2 separate regions of the Homo sapiens genome follow, and region 2 is linked to region 1. The links are contacts of gene promoters, found by promoter capture Hi-C in blood cells and fetal thymus (Javierre and others, 2016). All regions are on one chromosome and are shown on one strand. The core of a region is centred on a gene start or on the middle of the fragment in contact, and the rest is flanking DNA. Distances in the headings are between cores, read along the strand shown. Region 1 holds the start of UBE2W (ubiquitin conjugating enzyme E2 W). Region 2 overlaps PEX2 (peroxisomal biogenesis factor 2).

Region 1 (2,700 bases), core at 7-2,506:
ACTAACTGGCGTATTTTAAAGATCTTTTTCCTTTTTGAACACATTTCAGATTAGAGAAGTTCCAGAGAACGTAATCTATTTTAAGAGTGTGAAAGAGTGATATTCCACATTGCTTTTATATCTTAAAGAAATTTCTAAAAAGAAAGCCGAGTCAATAAAATGACAGATTTTAAGCCTTCATTCTGGTAACATAAAAGCCTTCTACTCATTGTGTCTGCCACCTTAATTTTTAAAGATAGAGCATGAGGTGTAAGCTTTTGGCTTCCATTTTCCTCTTATAAACCAATGACATCTTCAGTTCCAGAATAGCTTTTTAAAAACGTGACTTCTGATAAATGTTGGCAGAACTGGTGCATTCCTAAAATAAATTATGTATGCTCAGCTTTCCCTACCCAAGTTCATCCCTAAATGACCACAAAACTGCCCACCACGAACTATGCTTAAGAGAAGTCTGGACATAATGGTATAAGTGTATATAACACGACATTGGTATATTTAAAAAAAAATTCATGCCTAGGGTCAATTCTGATAATCAAATTTAGACTGCTGCAACAACCGTAACTATTGTTGATATATGCGCAGTTTAAAAGTGAAGGGCGGGGGTAAGGGGCAGAAACTGCACACAACAAACTTCCAAATTTTGTCTCCCTTTTCAGGCAAGTTTCAGCTCCACAAATCTAAATACCCTCGCCTTTAAAATATCAGTGTCGTTCTGCTCTTAAATCCTCATCCCGTTGTACAAGGAAACCTATGTCTCTCTTCCCCAAATTAAGAATACGAGAAGCCTTCCAGGTCTGCAAATACCAGAAAGCAGCTGCGCATGAAGTTTTATGGGGCCCCAAGGCTCTGAGAGTGGGCTTGGAGGTATGGAAAACACATCCCAAGGGAAAAATCTGTGAACCGCACAACTGTGGTTGGAAACGAAATAGGAAAAAAACTGCGCGGAACCGGACGTCATCAGCATTTCGCGGTACACACGAAGAAAACAACCGTAGTCGGGTCAAAACTGGAGCCGTGTCTCCTCAGTAACGAGAGTAAATGGGGGCCCGACGCGTGAGCGGCCAGCCGGACTGAGACAGAAAGTACTCAGAGCGCCATTTACCGCGCCCTCGCCCCGCCCCGTAGCCCCTCCTCCCGTCCGCCCTGCGCGCCAGCCAATCCCCTCGCTCCATCCCCTTCCCATCGCAGACCCCGCCCCCGCGCCCGGGATGTTGAGCCCCCGCGGCGTGACGCGAGCACGGCAGCTCCTCCCCCTGCGTCTCTGGCCTCGCCGGTCTTGGGGGGATGGTTCCATCATGGCGTCAATGCAGGTGAGAGGAGTTTGCTGCATCTGGGCGGGCCAGGGAGCCGCCGAGAGAGTGCCAGCGTTCGGGCGGGGGTGGCGTCCGCGATTCGGGGACACCCGGGCGGGTTCGGGATCGGTCCGGGTGGCCTGTTTTCCCTCAGCTCAGGGCGTCGGGGGAGGGGTAAGAGGCGGCGAGAGGCGTTGTGGGGGGTGCGGTATCCGTCGGTCGAAGCGGACACCAGCCGGCCGGGAAGTTGGGTGATAAAGGAGGGTTGGGGAAGAAAGGGCAAAGTCTGGCGTTGGCGGTCTCAGAATCGGCTCCCCGCACACACACACGGGCGCTGCCAGTCTGCTGCCCGCCAGCCCCAGGGTTGCCTTTACCCCCGCTGTCCCTGGCCCGACGGAAACAGCTGCGCCCGCGGTTGTTGCCGGGGCAGGGGCGGCGGGGGGCTGAGTGTGCGGGAGCCGAGAATGCGTCTCCGGAGAAGGCGGCTGGCTGCGGACGGCGCTTAGCGGCCTCTGCTCCGGCCTCCCACGCCGGGCCCCCCAGACTGCTCGGCCCCGTCCCTCTCTTCTTCCCTTTGACTCTTAATCCTGTGCCCGTGGGTATCTTCTATTTCCATCAGCCTCGGTATTCTCGCGGACATTCCTCCAGCAGTCCACTGTCTCCTTCCTCTCGAAGCTGCCCCGTGTCCACCGCCTGATGGGCGATCTCCCGAGAGCCGAGTCCTCAGCCCCCTTAAACCTCTCGGGATAGCTTGCCTTCTATTTTGTTTCCCACTGCAAGGCCCCACCCTTGCGGTCGCGATAAGGCTATACATCTCTTTGCCCTTATTCCCAGACCTTTAGTGGAACCTTAGTTTGGTAGGAGGCGTTTGTTAACCTGTGCCATATCCCCCCGACTTAGCAAGGCGTGGTTTTCTGGCTTTCCAACTTAATTTACTCCTTTTTCCCGAATCTAGGGAGTTGTGGGTTTTTTTGTTTTTTGTTTCCAGGCAAAGATGGCAACCACAATTGTAGTTGTGCAGGGATTGAGTGCGTTATCTGTAGCCTGCATTTAATTCACAGGTGAAGACTAGCGGTATCAAAGGCATTGGAAGAGAAAGTAGAACGCTCAATAGGAGTGTCAGCTGAGTACCCTTTAGCGTTTTCATAATATCCCCTTGGGTAAAGAGACCACATTTTCTTAGAAGTGTTTTTTGCTTTTGTTTCTGGAAGAAGCAAGTCTCTGTTCCTCCTCCATTTTTTTTTCTTTACTCTGCTAAAAGTGTTTTTCTTCCCTTTTCTGCATCTTCTTCCTCTTTTGTACAAATATAGCTTTGCTTCACATTTACTCCTGTGCTTTTATGTTATTCCCCTTTCAACCTGTTTTCCTTACAATATTCTCTTTACCTTGCTTCTCCCTCTGGACTTGC
Region 2 (2,700 bases), core at 40-2,539, 3.1 Mb before region 1:
CCCAGAACGGCAGTTTTTCTTTTCTTCAGTTTTATTGAACTCTGCCGTCAGATTAATCTTTTGAAATTTATATCCCATTATGTCTCTTCTCTTCAATGATTATTCATGCCTACAGAATCAATACAATTTCCTTAACACAGGTTCTTTTTACAATGTGGCTAGGTTGACACTTCAGCCAGTCTCTCCTGCCAGCCTGCTTTGGTCATGACAGATGACTTGTCTCCTTCCAGATAACAGATGCAGCCACATTGACGGGGGTTAAATAACCAAGGATGTAGCTCATGGTGCAACTCATGTCCGTATGTCCCAGCTAGGCTATGGTCAGGAGCTTGCTATTTCTGGGCTTTCACACAGCCTGTTCCCTTGCCTTACATACCATTTTCCTCTTTTCTCCCTGGAAAGTTTTGTGATCTTTTATAATGTTTTCACGTTTTGGGATCCATTCTTCACTTCAGAGATCAATGGCCAGTCCTGATTTCCTATGTCTTTTAAAATGCTTGAATAAAAGGAAGCTAGCTGACAGTTAAATATTTAGATTGAATCTCTAGTACCTAGGAGAATGCCTTGTATTTGATAGGTGTCCAGTATATATTTGTTACATTGAGTAACCATTTGTCAGAGAATTAGAATTCACTAAAACACAAACTGCTTACACTATATTGGGAATAATTTTATGTGATATAAAGTCGTTTATGGCATTTATGCTTCATACCTATTATAACAAATCTTGTTGTACTGCTGTAGAGGGAAGAAGATTCCATAATTGGGTTAATTGAATTTCTAGTTATTTTGATTTCATCATTTTCTTCTACTCCTTTGCTGCCCTTTTCTAAAGAGAGTATTCTAGAATAGCTGTACCTGCCAGAAAGAGAGGAGTGGGGTGGGAGTATGTGTGATGAGGAAGAACTGAATGTAATATGCTGGTGATGAATACAAGTTTGTTGCTTGTCTTGGACTGCCTGTACCATGTTGTGTGCAGCAAAGCACCCTAGAGTCAAATATTGTAAGTGTGCATTCATGAGGTTTCTTTACTTCAAGATAACAGGCACAACTATGTTGATAGGGGCTAAATAATGACAGGAGCAGGTCATGCGGGAACCCATCTCTTTTCTCTATCCACACTGTGTCATATCCTTTCAGACAAGGTGCAAGTTAAGTGGGCAGTGAGTTCCACTGAACCATCATATCTCTGCCCACTCCTGCCTGGCCCCTCCCACGTGCACACATAAGGGTGACATTATGTTTGTGGTTTAACTGCCACAATTTATGTCTTAATGATGTCAATATTTCCTGGAAAAACATTTTGATACAGGTTGATTGAGGCATTACTATAACTAACAGTGAAGGTTTCAGTCTTTCGAAATGAGATTTGCCAAAATTAGTTTGGGGCCTGTTACTTTTCATGCTCATCCCTAGCCAAAGCAACAATAATGTAATAAATAATACTGCTTTATGGCTTCTAAACCACTTTCGTAACATTATCTGGTTTAATCTCAACAACTTTGTGAGGTAGCTGTTATTTCCAACTTTTAGGAGAAGAATCCGAGGCTAATGAAGTTTTTTAAGATCTCATAGCAAGTAAGTGACAGAGCTAGAACTTGAGCCCAGGCCTGTTTGATTTTAAATCTGCTTTTTCCACTCTGTGACAGATGCCTAAAGAAGAATGTAGAGCATGGGAGAAGTATTCCACTTTAATGAACTATGGTGTGTAATAGACAGTGTCTGTTCTATGTTTACAACTAAAAGAAGTCACAAAAATGACTAAAATGTTGGAAAATAAAACCTAAAACAAAAAATAGAGAGAAATTATTCATCTGGAGGAGCAAAGGCTGAAGAACAGTTTAATAATAGTCTTTTGGTCTATTAAAGAGTCTTACGTAGGGAGGAGAGCAAACCCAGCTGTTCCTAATCTACACTGAGGCCAGGCCTGGGGAGGAAAAGAAGAAAGAAAAAAATGTTAAACTGTAACAGAAGGGATAAGAAAGAATTTTTTGATAATAAATATTGTTAAATATTGTATTGGTTAAAGACCGTTTTAGGTCTCCTTTTCTGGCAGTCATTAAAAATTCCTGTTTTTACTGAATGTTTTTAAGTGTAATTCCTCCAAAAACAAGAAACTTGAAATAGATGATTCTTCTGACAAACCACTCACTCTGACCAGTTTCTCACTAAATATCACTAAGGAACCTGAGGAAGAGATGCAGTTATGAGTTGCTTATCAAGGGGGTACATTCTGAGAAACGCATAGTTTGATGATTTCATCATTGTGCGAACATCATAGGGTGTACTCACACAAACCTACTTGGTATAGCCTAGTTCACACCTCGTTATATTTTACTGTGCTTTCTTCTGGTTTGCAGATACTGCTTTTACAAATTAAAGGTTTGTAGCAAACCGAGTCAATCAAGTTTATCTGCACAATTTTTTTTCCAACAGCATTTACTCAACTTGGTGTCTCTGTGTAACGTTTAGGTAATTCTTGGCAATATTTCAGACTTTTTTTTATTATGATATTCTTAGTGGTGACCTGTGATCAGTGATCTTTGTTATTACTATTGTAACTGTTCTGGGGCACCACGAACTGTATCCATATAAGATGGTGAACTTATAAATATTCTGGGGCACCAAGAACTGTATCCATATAAGATGGTGAACTTAACAAATATTGGGTGTTCTGACTGTTCTGCTGACTTGCCTATT

Evidence for each region. The method cuts DNA at HindIII sites, captures the fragments that hold promoters and counts their contacts. A CHiCAGO score of 5 or more calls a contact.
Region 2: a fragment that was not itself captured here is called in contact with the fragment with the promoter of UBE2W in region 1 in 1 of 17 cell types (naive CD8 T cells); the score reaches 5.3 in naive CD8 T cells.

What each region holds. Positions count from the first base shown.
Region 1 is chr8:73,877,418-73,880,117 of GRCh38, reverse strand. It overlaps UBE2W (ubiquitin conjugating enzyme E2 W), which reads left to right and starts at 1,256. Exons shown (of 6, transcript NM_018299.6): 1 at 1,256-1,310. The coding sequence starts at 1,296. It overlaps LINC01617 (long intergenic non-protein coding RNA 1617), which reads right to left and starts at 1,136. Exons shown (of 3, transcript NR_147034.1): 1 at 1-1,136. RefSeq lists silencers at 1,024-1,313, 1,454-1,503, 1,524-1,783 and enhancers at 1,170-2,047, 2,524-2,573. The HindIII fragment of the contact is 3,471 bases long and covers 257-2,700 here.
Region 2 is chr8:76,990,616-76,993,315 of GRCh38, reverse strand. All of the region lies in intron 1 of PEX2 (peroxisomal biogenesis factor 2), which reads left to right. Among named protein-coding and RNA genes, the nearest start is that of PEX2, 8.1 kb to the left of the region's middle. The HindIII fragment of the contact is 3,106 bases long and covers 1-2,700 here.